Regions from separate parts of the Homo sapiens genome. Here all the other regions are linked to region 1. Evidence: promoter capture Hi-C in 16 types of primary human blood cells and fetal thymus (Javierre and others, 2016). All regions are on one chromosome and are shown on one strand. Each heading gives the region's core, a stretch centred on a gene start or on the middle of the fragment in contact. The rest is flanking DNA. Distances are from core to core; before and after follow the strand shown. Region 1 holds the start of DOCK3 (dedicator of cytokinesis 3). Region 2 overlaps DOCK3 (dedicator of cytokinesis 3). Region 3 overlaps DOCK3 (dedicator of cytokinesis 3). Region 4 overlaps DOCK3 (dedicator of cytokinesis 3).

Region 1 (2,975 bases), core at 123-2,622:
TTCCAAAACATTCGTTACCACTGCAGTTTCAAGTTATTTTGTAGTGAATTGTGAACTAAATCTTGATTAAATTGCGGTAAAGATGGGAAACAAAAATCTATGTTTAGACAGGTTTCCTATCTAAAATTTTCCATTACGAGCTTAGGAAAAACAAAACCTGTACACTCAACATTTTAAATCTGTTTCTAACTGAACAAGATGATAGGTGATGCAATGAGGCTTAACTCTATCATGTAATTGCCACAAAACACTAACATTGTAAAACATTCAATACTTTAAATTACTGAATATTCTTTTTAAAGAAGTTGAATATTGTAAGAATTATTTAGCTTCTGGAGTTTAACACTTACAACATTAAAAAAAGGTTTCTAAGAGGAATAAGGTCTCATCTGAAAACAGGGTTTAAAAAAAAAACCGTATAAACATTGATACATGTCCAAAAACATTTCCCATCGTAAGGTATTATTTCTAATACTAAAGGCAAAACAAATTAAAACAGATCAAACATTTGCAGTCAAATGTCCAAATTTTTGAACTGGGAAAATGATGTCAACGTTTTTCATCCGTTTTCTTGTAAGGTTCCAGATCAAAAATAAACAGCCATCGGGCTCATCAATTCAGGTGCGGAAACTCATTAAAATCGAGCTTTTGGAGGGGAGAAAACATATTCCCAGAATTTGGTTTATCGGGTAAAATTGCCCCGTGGCCCACACCAGAAACCTCGGGCAACTGCCCGGGCCTTGCCCACCCCTCCCGCGGGCCGCACCTGCCAAGGCCGCACCGCCAGCGCCCCCTGCCGCCCTCTCTGCACAGAGACCCGCGCCCACCCCCGCACCCGCACCCGCACCCGCACCTGCCCCCACCCCGCGCTCGCCCCGCGCCGAGGCCGCGCAGCCTGCGGGCAGTGGCGGGGGCACGAGGATGCGAATCCAGGCGGGGCCGGGAGCTGGGCGCGTCCCCCAGAACCCCCGCCACGGCCAGGCCTGAGCCTCACCTACCTACGCCGTATTTCTCCTCCTCCGTGGGGGTCCACATGGCCGTGCCGGGCGCGGCCCCGCGGGCGCGGCGACCGGGCGACAACGCGGCGGGGACGGCCGCGGGCCCGGCTGTGGCGCACCGCGAGTCGAGGCGGGGACGGTCAGGCGGCGCGGGGCAGTGGGCGGCGCATCCCTCACAGGCCGTCCGGGATGCCGCCGCCACCCCCGCCACGTCTGGACCGCGAGGCTCCGCGGGTGGCCCAGCAGCCCCTGGCGGCGCGGGCGAAGGCTCGCCACCTGTCCGTCGCCGCTGCTCCCGTGCCGCCGCTTGCTTCTTCACAGCTCCGCCGCCCGGCTCCCGGCGCCGCCGCGGCTCGGCTCGCCCCAGCGGGCTCGCAGGACGCCCGCGCATGCGCCACTCCCTGCCGCGCAGGGGCTCGCGCTGCCCGGGCTCGCGCCGTCCCGAGCCCGCGCGCGAATCCACGCGCCGCTGCTGCGCGCCAGCGGAGGGAAATCCGCGAGAAGCTATTGGACTGCCCGGCCCCGGACCGGCTTCTAGAATCGCTGGTCCGGGGCCCTCAGCTGCAGCAAACCCCGGAGGGGGCGAAGCCGGTCAGGTGGGCGACTCCCTCTACCCGGACTCCCCACTCGCTTCCGCTTCCAGTGCCTCCTGCCTGCGCCCCGAGATGGCCACAGGCCTCCTGGTCGGAGAGGGGAGATCCAGAAAAGGAGGACACGACACCATTTTCAGACCCATCCCAGTGTCACCCACAGTGCTGTCGGAAAGGTCCCCGGAGCCACCCTGTGCATTCCCAGGGCCCGCAGGATGGAGTCGCCACGAGGGAACCAGGTGGGGTGCACTCGTGCCCCTCTCTCCTGGATCCCCTGTGGGCTGAGGCCGCTGACACCTCCTGGGTTCTTGCTTCTCTGAGATGGCCTGAGTGGTGAATGTTTGGGGCCAGAACAATCAACAGCCGCCTTGCTAGTAAGGAAGAGCTTCATTGGGCCCTTCGTGTTCCTACCCAGGACACGGCATCTGCTGCTCCTGGGTGTCTGCCTCCCTTGGAGCCCTAAGAACTGGCTCCTACCGGAAACTTTCCTCCTCTCTCTCCTCCCTAAGAATCCATTCATTCTGATGCCTGTAAATGTCACCTTGTGACCCCCAAGTCAACCACTTACCAAAGAACAGGAACTGCAGGACTTCTCCTTTCCACCTACATTTGGACCACATGCTCTAATCCCAGCAGATTTGCCCATCTCTGTCACTAGCACTACTAAGTCAAAACCCTGGTGTCATCCTTCACTAGCACTCTCAGACACCACCACTCTTCAAAGCCCAGCTCAGCCCCTCACCTCCAGGAAGCCTGCCCTGACCCATAGTCTCCTTTCCTTCTTTGTCTGGAATTGGAGCTATGTTCGGTTTGTCTTATTTCCCTTATAAGACTGTCAGCTCCCAGAAGGCAAGCTCCAGGCTAAAATCAACTTTCTAAACCCTCACCACCAACCCAGCACCTGTTGTATAGTTGTTGCATGGGAAGCCAGACTAATAGAAGAATATCTTGCAATCAACAGATCTTGTTGATTCTTCGTTCAAAGTGTCATGATTGGTAACTCCTCCCAGGCCTGACTGTGCTCCCCTGGGTTATGGCCACCCCTTCCCACCTTCGGACCTTTAGGCTCCTCCTCTCACTAATCATAGCTGCCCACTCCCGCCCAGAAAAATGTCTGTTCTGTGAATGATAGAATTTCTCAATAGCCAGGTACACTTCTTTTTAGGGGTAGCAGGGGTGTCCAAGAACATAACGAAAGAGCTAACTGTTCCAAGAAGATAGACCCCTCCCCGGTGGCCACCATGGAAGTATTCTATGGAATGAAGCCACATTCTTACAAAACTCTCCAGGTAGCTATTCAACAAGTGGGGCTGAGCTACGCAGGCCTTCAGGGAACAACCTTAAAGCTCTTATTTCATCCTCTAAGTTCACTCCCTTGTCTGCTGTA
Region 2 (3,246 bases), core at 187-2,686, 200 kb before region 1:
ACAGCAAATATTGCAGAACGGCAAATGTTGCTGCCTGATCCTTCCTCTGGAAGCTTCGTCTCAGAGGGGCACCTGGCTGTATTTGGTGTCAGTCAGCCTCTATTGGGAGATGTCTCCCAGTTAGGTTACTCCCAGTTAGCCAGGCGTGGTGGTGCAGGCCTGTAATCCCAGCTACTCAGGAGGCTGAGGCAGGAGAATTGCTTGAACCCAGGAGGCGGAGGTTGCAGTGAGCTGAGATCACGCCACTGCACTCCAGCCTGGTGACACAGCGAGACTCCAACATAAAAAAGAAAAAGAAAAGAAAAGAAAAGAAAAGAAAAGAAAAAGTGGCTGCCATTGAAGCCCTAGATAATGGTGCACTACAGAAAGCCACTGTCTTGTTCAGAGATGCCATCAAGCTGAATCCTCGCTTGACCATTCTGTATGTCAACACAGTCAGTATCTTCATCACATTACAGAAGCCAAACACTGCCATTCGAGACTGACAGAACAAATGAAATAAATTCTGATTTGGCTCAGCCTTATAAGTGGTGAGGGAAAGCACACAGATTTCTGGGCCATTGGAAAGAAGCAGCTATAATCTTGACCCTGACCATAACTGGATTATGATGAAGATACTAGTACAATGCTGAAAGAAGTTCAACTGAGGGCCAAGAAAATTGCACAACATTAGAAAAAGGTTGAATAGAAATATCAAGAGTAAGAAATCAAAGAAAGAATAAAAAGGGTTAAGAAGGCTCCGTAAGATCATGAGAGAGCTCAGAGGGAGAAAGAAGCCAGATGACATTCAGGAGCTCAGTATGGCTCTTTTCCAGGTGGCTTTCCCAGGGGGAATGCCTGGTAATTTTCCTGGAGCAATGCCTAGAATGGCAGAAATGCCTGGATGCAATGAAATTCTTAGTGATTTAGAGCAGGAGTGTTCAATCTTTTGGCTTCCCTGGACCACACTCAAAGAAGAATTGTCTTGGGCCACACATAAAATACAGTAACACTAACGAGAGCTGATGGGCTTTTTAAAAAAATTGCAAAAAATCTCATAATGTTTTAAGAAAATTTACAAATTTGTGTTGGGCCACATTCAAAACTGTTCTGGGCTGCATATGGCCCATGAGTTGGACAAGCTTGACCTAGAGGTTCTTGCAGCCATGCAGGAAACAGAAGTTACAGTGATCTTCTAGGATGTGGCCCAGAACACAGCAAATATGTCAAAACACCAGAGTAACCAAAAAAATTATGAATCTCATCAGTAAATTGTCAGCCAAATTTTTAAAGTGAAGGAAAATGTCCTTTGGACAAGTAAAAGGCCCTAGGTGAAGGAAAAGCAAACTAGATCACCTAATAAATGTTACAATAATACAAACCGGTGTACCTCTGATCAAGACAACTAGAAGGCTTTCAAGATCATCTCTACCCCTCTTCCCCAAATGCAGCTGAATATTTTACTGTGGTTTGCCATTAGGATATTCATTCAAATCATGTGTTCCTGCTAGAAATTACAAACTATAATAAAATACTAAATATTTATTCACTAAATATTTATACTGAATAAAATACTAAATATTTTAAACCTTAAAATATTTAAAACAAAAGGATTTGTTAGTTCATATATTTTTCTTTAATAATCATTTTGTATTTTTCCTTTATTAGGCAAGAAAGATACTTAAGTATGGAAGATTTATTGCTCTGGTTTTAGTGAAACACAGGTTTACAAATGGGAGGCAAATAAAACTAATTTAAGTAGATAAAGCTTGAGTTGAATACATGACTACTGAGGAATTTTGATTTCTCTTTTTAAATGGTTTTTTAACATGAATAATTCTGATAAAAATATTGATATTCCAGTATTTCAACAGAACCTGAGGAACAGGTTCTGTTTCTCAGAAACAGACTGGAAATACTTGGTATAGCAGCAGTAATCTTATTATGTTTTACATAGCATGCACCCTCTTGTCAGTTGCATTTAAACCTTACACGATGGTAAAGAATTTTTTTTAATGCTCCAGTAGAGCTGGATTATTCAGCTCTGTTCTTGTTCAATATATCATGAAAATGTTTCATATTATCTCAACAGCGAACAGGCGAAGACTCTCAAAACACAACAGTTGTTTTTTTTTTTTTAATTCAAAAATTAAAGAGGAAGAGATGATTGCAACTTCATTCTATGAGGCAAGCACTGCTCTGATACCAAAATCAGACAGGGACACAACAAACAAGAAAACTATAGGCCGATAATCCTGATGAATATAAATGCAAAAATCTTCTACAAAATATTAAATACTCAAATTCAACAACATATCAAAAACATCATTCATCGTGATCAAGTGGGATTCATCCCAGGGAATCAAGGATGGTTGAACATGTGAAAATCAATAAACATGATATATCACATCAACAAAATCAGAGACAAAACCCATATCATCATTTCAATGGGTGCTGAAAAAGCATTTGATAAAGTTCAAAATTCCTTCATGATAAAACCTCTAAACAAACTGGGTATGGAAGGAATTTACCTGAACACAATAATGGCCACATATAACAAACCCATAGCTAATATCATACTGAAGGAACAGGGAAAAATTGAAAGTCTTTCCAAAGAGATCTCAAACAAGACAAAGATAAGACTTCCACCACTTTTATTTAACATAGTACTACAAGTCTTAGCCAGCACAAACAGGCAAGAGAAACAAGTGAAAGGGTACCCAAACTGGAATTTTAAAAGCCAAATTATCCTTGTTTGCAGACAACATAATTTTTTTTTTAATTTTACTTTAAGTTCTGGGATACATGTGCAGAACGTGCAGGTTTGTTACATAGGCATACATGTGCCATGGTGGTTTGCTGCACCTATCAACTCGTCATCTAGGTTTGAAGCCCCGCATGCTTTAGGTATTTGTCTTAATGCTCTCCCACCCCTCCCCCACAACTCCGGTGTGTGACGTTCCCCTCCCTGTGTCCATGTGTTCTCATTGTTCAACTCCCACTTATGAGTGAGAACGTGTGGTGTTTGGTTTTCTGTTTCTGTGTTAGTTTGCTAAGAATGATGGCTTCCAGCTTCATCCGTGTGCCTGCAAAGCCCATGAACTCATTCTTTTTTATGGCCACAATGATCTTATATTTAGAGAAACCTAAAGACTCCACCACAAAAAAGCTTAGAACTGAAAAACGTATTCAGTAAAGTTGCAGCATACAACCTCAACATACAAAAATCAGTAGCATTTACATATACTACCAGTGAAAAATCAAAAA
Region 3 (3,373 bases), core at 701-3,200, 250 kb before region 1:
CACACTGTCTTCCATTAGGTGAGTGTAAAATGATGGATACTTGATTTATCACTCTTCCTGCATCTGGGGAACACAGGGCTATGACCTAAGCTCCTTTCAACCCAGACTTAGAAAAGGAAACCAATGACTTCTAGAAGCAAAGACTGAAAAAACGACAACTTGGTAGCAGCTACAGTCAATTTCCAGAGACAGTAGCCTTTTTTAAAATTTCCCATGTAGTACTTATTTTTATTTTGATTTTTTATGGATGTATAATAGTTGTACATATTTATGGGGTACACGTAATATTCTGATATAAGCACACAATGTGTAATGAGAAAATCTTGGTAAATGGAATATCCATCACCTCAAATATTTATGATTTCTTTGTATTGAGAACATTCTAAATCTTCTCTTCTAGCTATTTTGAAATATACAATAAATTATTGTTAGCTATAGACATCCTGTTGTGCTATCAAACGACTAGATCTTATTCTATCTAGCGGTATTTCGGTACCCACTAACCAATCCCTCCTCATCCCCCACTCCCCACTGCCCTGTGGGAGCATCCAGTTTTAAGTCAGTGAGGGGAAGGAAGGAGGCAGAAATAAATACTGTAGTCAAGGTATGTTTCACTGAGAAGATTTCAGAAAAGGCCTGAAGGAAGTGACAAAGCTAATCCCAAGCATAAGAAACAATAGAAGCCTCAAGGCAGGAGCATACCTGAAATGACTGAATAAAAGCAAGAAAACCAGTGTCACTGAAGGTTACAGGGTGACAGGAAGTCACATCATAAAACTTGTAAGCCTTTGTAAGAACTTCAATGTTTGCTCTGTGTGAGACGGGAGTCGCTAGAAGGTTTTAAGCAGAGGAGTAACATGATCTAACATATTTTTAAAGAACAACTCTGGCAGTTATGTTGCACTATAAACTGCAAGGGAACATGGATAGAAACAGGGAGACCAGTTAGAAGGTGGTGCTGTAACACAGGCAAGAAACTATAACCCCAGAATGTACTTGTTTTTCATTCCATGACATAATGTGACAATTTAGGACACTGAGTTTCTCCTTCTTCTTCTCAGCTGTCTAATGCTGTACCAACTCCACCCAACAGTCCATAACGTGCTCACATCTTTCCTACTGTTCCTTAGCAGCTGACTCTCAACAACTCTCACCATCTTGCTATAGTGGGCACCCATGCTAATTCCCTTTCAAGTCCCACTTTCATCTAACTGAAGCCCCAGATCTCTAACCCTCTCTGGTTATGATAATGTCAAGGTTCCTGTAACACTTATAAATAAAATATGCATAACTAGAAGCACAGTCTAATATTGTCTCCATCCTAGAGAAAAGCATGAGACTGAGTTTGAGAAAAGCTTTGGTAAATAGACCAAGAATGAGGTCATAGAATGAATTAAATAAATGGATGAACAAACGAATGAACAAATTAATAGGCAAACTTTTTTAAAAAACCCTTGGCCTGTATGCTCAAAAGCAAGAAATCTTCCAGGTACTGTTGATCTACTGATTCTCCCTTTAACTAAGAGTTAACAAATCTAGCAGATGTAGAATGGATATATAAAAATTGGTTACATGAATTGGAATTATCTTGGCATACCCAACTAAATTAATGTCAAGAGACTGCATCAGGGGAGGAGAGAAGCACTCGGGCACAAAGCACCTGTCCAAGGGTTATATCACAAGCCAGCTGCCAAAATGGCCTGCTATAACTTTGGGAGGCCAAGGTGGGTGGAGCACTTGAGGTCAGGAGTTTGATACCAGCCTGGCCGACATGGTAAAACCCTATCTCTACTAAAAATACAAAAGTTAGCCAGGCTTGGTGGTGCGTGCCTTGTAATCCCAGCTACTCAGGAGGCTGAGGCAGGAGAATCACTTGAACCCGGGAGGCAGAGGTAGCAGTAAGCCAAGATTGTGTCATTTGCACTCCAGCCTGGGCGACAGAGTGAGACTCTGTCTCAAAAAAAAAAAAAAAAAAAAAAAAGACTAGTTTTACCTAGTAGCTGCTGAAATGAACTGCCATGACTTTAAGAACAGTTTTACCTACCGCCATCACTCACCCAACCAATCAGAGCTTGCCAGCTCCCAAAAACTTCACTAGTGTTAGTAAGTTTTCTTTCAAAACAATATGTAACATTTCTCTAATAAAACCCCAACCTTCTGTTTCTTCTTCGGACACAAAGAAGACTACCCTGTCTGTGTGTATGCCCTGAATGGCCATTCTGCTTTCCTAAATAAAACTTTTTTTTTTTAAGGAGGCAGAGTCTTGCTATGTTTCCCAGTCTGGAGAGCAGTGCCTATTCACAGGCATGATCATAGTGCACTATGGCCTCAAACTCCTTGGCTCAAGCAATCCTCCTGCCTCAGCCTCCCGAGGACCCAAGACTACAGGTATGTGCCAATATGCCTGGCCTTCCAAATAAAATGCTTTGTCTAGAGATTTGTCATTTATTTGACTTTGACAGATGGATGAGACAATCTGATATACATAAAATACTACTTGCAAGAATAATATCTAATCAGGAAACCAGGACTGCAAAAAGCTTAATGCTCACTTTTTTGATGCTCATGCAAGAGTTCATTTTCTCTTTCAGCTTCATCACTCATATAGCCAAAAATCAAACTCAAGTTTTGATCCTAAGGATTGCTGAATTACAAGATCAGTTGAATTCATGGCCTTTTCATTAAAATTAAGATAAAAGGCAGGGTAGTGACATAAAAATAACAGTAACCTGTGAATCAGAATGGAGATAGAATAAAGACATGGGATAACTTAGGAAAGTCTGAGCTCCACCCCTAGTAAACCTCCTTTTGGCATCAGAAAAAGTCCCTCCTTCTGGGCTGATGAGGGTATCCTTGCCTTGCTTACATGCTGTGAGACTACATCACCTGAGTGAATTATCTTGCAAAGAGAAGCCCATTTTCCTTAGACCATACACCACCCGCATAATTGTCCCCAGTGTCCTGTAAATTCAATCTGTTTACTTTCCCAGCCATCCTGAAAAGAATGCTGTGAAAGAAATAGCAGCTATAGAGGAGCTCAACTCCATGAACTTTCCCTCACCAAGGCTGATCTGACACCACAACTGCTGAATCAGAACTGACCGGTAGCAGTGGGCAACCCTGAGACTTGGATGTGGTACACATATTCCAAGTGGATTAGCCAACTGCCTACAGGCAAGTTCATACTTTTGACCCCATTCATGACAAAGAGGATGAGATTTGGACTTACTTTCCCTGGCTGCTTCATTTCTGGAAACATAACCTTCAGTAGACTATTCAATACCCTATTTGCCATAACACTGTTGCATATAAAACTGGAATATGAGCAAGGAACTCATTTTAAACACAAAGAAGGAAGATAAGGAGCTGACAC
Region 4 (3,201 bases), core at 654-3,153, 170 kb before region 1:
AGGAGATCCTTAAGAGTTCTAAACATGGAAACAAAAAGAGCGATACCTGCTGTCACACAACCACACTTAAGTATATAGCCTATAAAGCAACTACACATTAGAAACTAAAAAGCAGCCAGCTAACAACTTCACGATAGGATCAAAACATCGCATATCAGTATTAATGTTGAATGTAAATAGTCTAAACACTCAACCTAAAAGGCAAAGAGTAGCAAGTTGAACAACAACAACAAAAAGACCCATCTGTCTGCCATCTTCAGGAGATCCATCTCAGATGTGACAACACCCATAGGCTCAAGGTAAAGGGCTGAAGACAGATCTACTATGCAAATAAAAAACAAAAAAGATCAGGGGTTACTATTCTTATATCAGATAAAAGAGACTTTAAACCAACAACAATAAAAAAAGGACAAAGAAGAGCGTGATATAATGATGAAGAGTTGAATTCAACAAGACTTAACTATCCTAAATACATAGGCACCCAACAATGGAACACACAGATTCCTAAAATAAGTACCTCTAGACCTACGAAAAGACTTAGACAACCTCACAATAACTGTGGGGGATTTTTTTTTTTTTTTTTTTTTGAAATGGAGCCTCGTTCTGTCACCCAGGCTGGAGTGCAGTGGCACAATCTCGGCTCACTGCAACCTCTGCCTCTGGGTTCAAGCAATTCTCCTGCCTCAGCCTCCTGAGTAATTGGGACTACAGGTATACACTACCATGCCCGGCTGATTTTTGTGTTTTTACTAGAGATGGGGTTTTACCATGTTGTCCAGGCTAGTCTTGAACTCCTGGCCACAAATGATCTGCCCACCTCAGCCTCCCAAAGTGCTAGAATTACAGACATAAGCCACTGCACTTGGCCATAGTGGGGGATTTCAATATCCCACTGACAGCATTAGATCACTGAGACAGAAAACTAACAAATAACATCTGGATTTAAACTCAACACTTGACTAGTCAGACCTAACAGACATGTACAGAATACTCCACCCATCAACCACGGGACATTCTCAGATTTTTCTCATCTACAGAAGAGAATGGAATCAGAACATATTCCAAGATTGACCACATGCTCAACCATAAAGCAAGTTTCAATAAATTCAAAAAAATGGAAGTCATACCAACTATACTCTCAGGTCACAATGGAATAAAAACAGGAATGAATACCAAGAAGATTGCTCAAAACCACATAATTACATGGAAATTTAAAAACTTGCTCCTGAATGAATGTTGGGTAAACAACAAAATTAAGGCAGAAATCAAAAAACTCTTTAAAATAAATGAGAACAGACACAACATACCAAAACCTCTGGTATGAAGCAAAAGCAGAGTTAATAGGCAAGTTTATAATGCTAAACACCTACCTCAAAAAGTTAGAAAAAAAAATAGCAATTACACCTGAAGGAACTAGAAAAAACAAGAACAAAGTAACCCCAAAGATAGCAGAAGAAAACAAATAACTAAAATCAGAGCAGAACTGAACAAAATTGAGAACCCAAAATCCACACAAAGAATCAACAAGATTGATGGACTGCTAGGTAGATTAAGAAAGAAAAAAGAGAAAAGATCCAAATATGTACAATCAGAAATGACAAAGGTGACATTATAGCCAATCCCACACAAATACGAAAGATCCTCAAACACCATTAGGAACACGTAGAAGATCTACAGCAAATTGGAAACTAGAAAATCTAGAGGAAATGGATAAATTCCTGAAAACACACAAGATCCCAAGATTGAATCAGGAAGAAACTGAAACCCTGAACAGACCAATATCAAGTTCAAAAATTGAATCAGTAATAAAAAACCTATCAACCAAAGCAAGTCCTGGACCAGACAGATTCACAGCCAAACTCTATTAGATGTACAAAGAAGAGCTGCCACCAATCTTACTGAAACTATTCCAAAACATCAAGGAAGAGGGACCCTTCCTTAACTCATTCTACTAAACCAATATCATCCTAGCACCAAAATCTTACAAAGACACAACAAAAAGAGAAAACTATAGGCCGATATCCCTGAACGCAGACCAAAATCCTCAACAAAATACTAGTAACCTGAATCCAGCAGCACATCAAAAGATAATTCATCACAGACTGTTGCCCCAACACCTTTTCCCCTTTGCTGGTTTTTCTTTCTATTTTTTCACTGTAATAATTCATAACTGTGAGTACAACTATATGCCCCTATTCAGTACTCATTCTACTCCACAGTACCTGAAACCATTAATTACCCCTGTTTTTAAAAAATGTTCTCCTTGGCCAACTATGACCTCCATTAGTCTTTTTTTGCCAGTTCCTCTTTCTCTGTCCTCCAAAGTGTTGGCAGTCTTTACAGTCTCATTTGCAGTGCTATTCTTTAATAGTAAAAGACGATAGTGCAAAAGAATTATCACGTTCTTATGTGCTAGGCACTGCAATAACGGTTTCATATCAACTCATTGATTCCTCATTACAATTCCATGAGATAAGTAATAACCCATTTCAAATACAGACAAAATTAGACAACAGTATAATGAATCTCCACAAATCCATCACTCAGCTTCAACAATTATCAACATTTTGCCAATCTTGACTCATCAATCTACATACATTTTACCCATTATAGTATTTTTAGAGAAAATTTCAGAAATTATCCACAAATACTTCAATATTTACCTTAAATATTCAAGGAGGTTCAATCGCTTGAACCTCTGCCTCCCAAGTTCAAGCGATTCTCTTGACAGTAAATATCTTCAATATTTACCTTTTGTTTTCCTGATAAACCCTATTTTATAGTTATACTGTATGACAGTAATGGGTCCACATCTCTGTTGAATGACAGATTCCCTGTTGCCAAAGTGTAAATTCCTTAGATTTCTTTGGCGTATGACTCTAAATATATAGGTCCAATCTGCCTTTCCTGCCTTACCATCCATCACTCTCTCCTGCACTATGCCTTACCCAGCTTAAAATATTTACTATTCCATGAATATGTCTTGCAATTTTTTGCTGTGCAAAACATTCCATAAGGCCCTGTTCCTATCTCACAGAATACTACGCATTCTGTTCACAATTATTGATAAAAGCTGATCCTGAAATCACAAAATGGAAGTAAATATAAACTGTACTGAATTTCATTATTCCTCTTGAGCATATATTTTATAAAAAGCACAAAAATAAAATCAAGTATCTGTTGTCCTTTTTTCTCAATTTT

The links. Contacts are between HindIII fragments. The CHiCAGO score rates a contact against its expected background, and 5 or more counts as called.
Region 2: a fragment that was not itself captured here is called in contact with the fragment with the promoter of DOCK3 in region 1 in 1 of 17 cell types (M2 macrophages); the score reaches 6.5 in M2 macrophages.
Region 3: a contact is called between a fragment that was not itself captured here and the fragment with the promoter of DOCK3 in region 1, in 1 of 17 cell types (M2 macrophages). The highest score is 6.7, in M2 macrophages.
Region 4: a fragment that was not itself captured here is called in contact with the fragment with the promoter of DOCK3 in region 1 in 1 of 17 cell types (M2 macrophages); the score reaches 5.5 in M2 macrophages.

What each region holds. Positions count from the first base shown.
Region 1 is chr3:50,673,324-50,676,298 of GRCh38, reverse strand. DOCK3 (dedicator of cytokinesis 3) reads right to left here and starts at 1,372. Exons shown (of 53, transcript NM_004947.5): 1 at 999-1,372. The coding sequence starts at 1,035. MIR4787 (microRNA 4787) reads right to left here and starts at 1,219; the gene lies at 1,136-1,219. RefSeq lists a silencer at 1,119-1,408. The HindIII fragment of the contact is 16,225 bases long and covers 1-2,975 here.
Region 2 is chr3:50,874,730-50,877,975 of GRCh38, reverse strand. The region is part of intron 3 of DOCK3 (dedicator of cytokinesis 3); the gene reads right to left. It also overlaps the pseudogene ST13P14. Among named protein-coding and RNA genes, the nearest start is that of MIR4787, 200 kb to the right of the region's middle. The HindIII fragment of the contact is 626 bases long and covers 1,124-1,749 here.
Region 3 is chr3:50,924,433-50,927,805 of GRCh38, reverse strand. All of the region lies in intron 4 of DOCK3 (dedicator of cytokinesis 3), which reads right to left. Among named protein-coding and RNA genes, the nearest start is that of MIR4787, 250 kb to the right of the region's middle. RefSeq lists a silencer at 2,854-3,148. The HindIII fragment of the contact is 1,185 bases long and covers 1,358-2,542 here.
Region 4 is chr3:50,845,269-50,848,469 of GRCh38, reverse strand. All of the region lies in intron 3 of DOCK3 (dedicator of cytokinesis 3), which reads right to left. Among named protein-coding and RNA genes, the nearest start is that of MIR4787, 170 kb to the right of the region's middle. The HindIII fragment of the contact is 3,962 bases long and covers 1-3,201 here.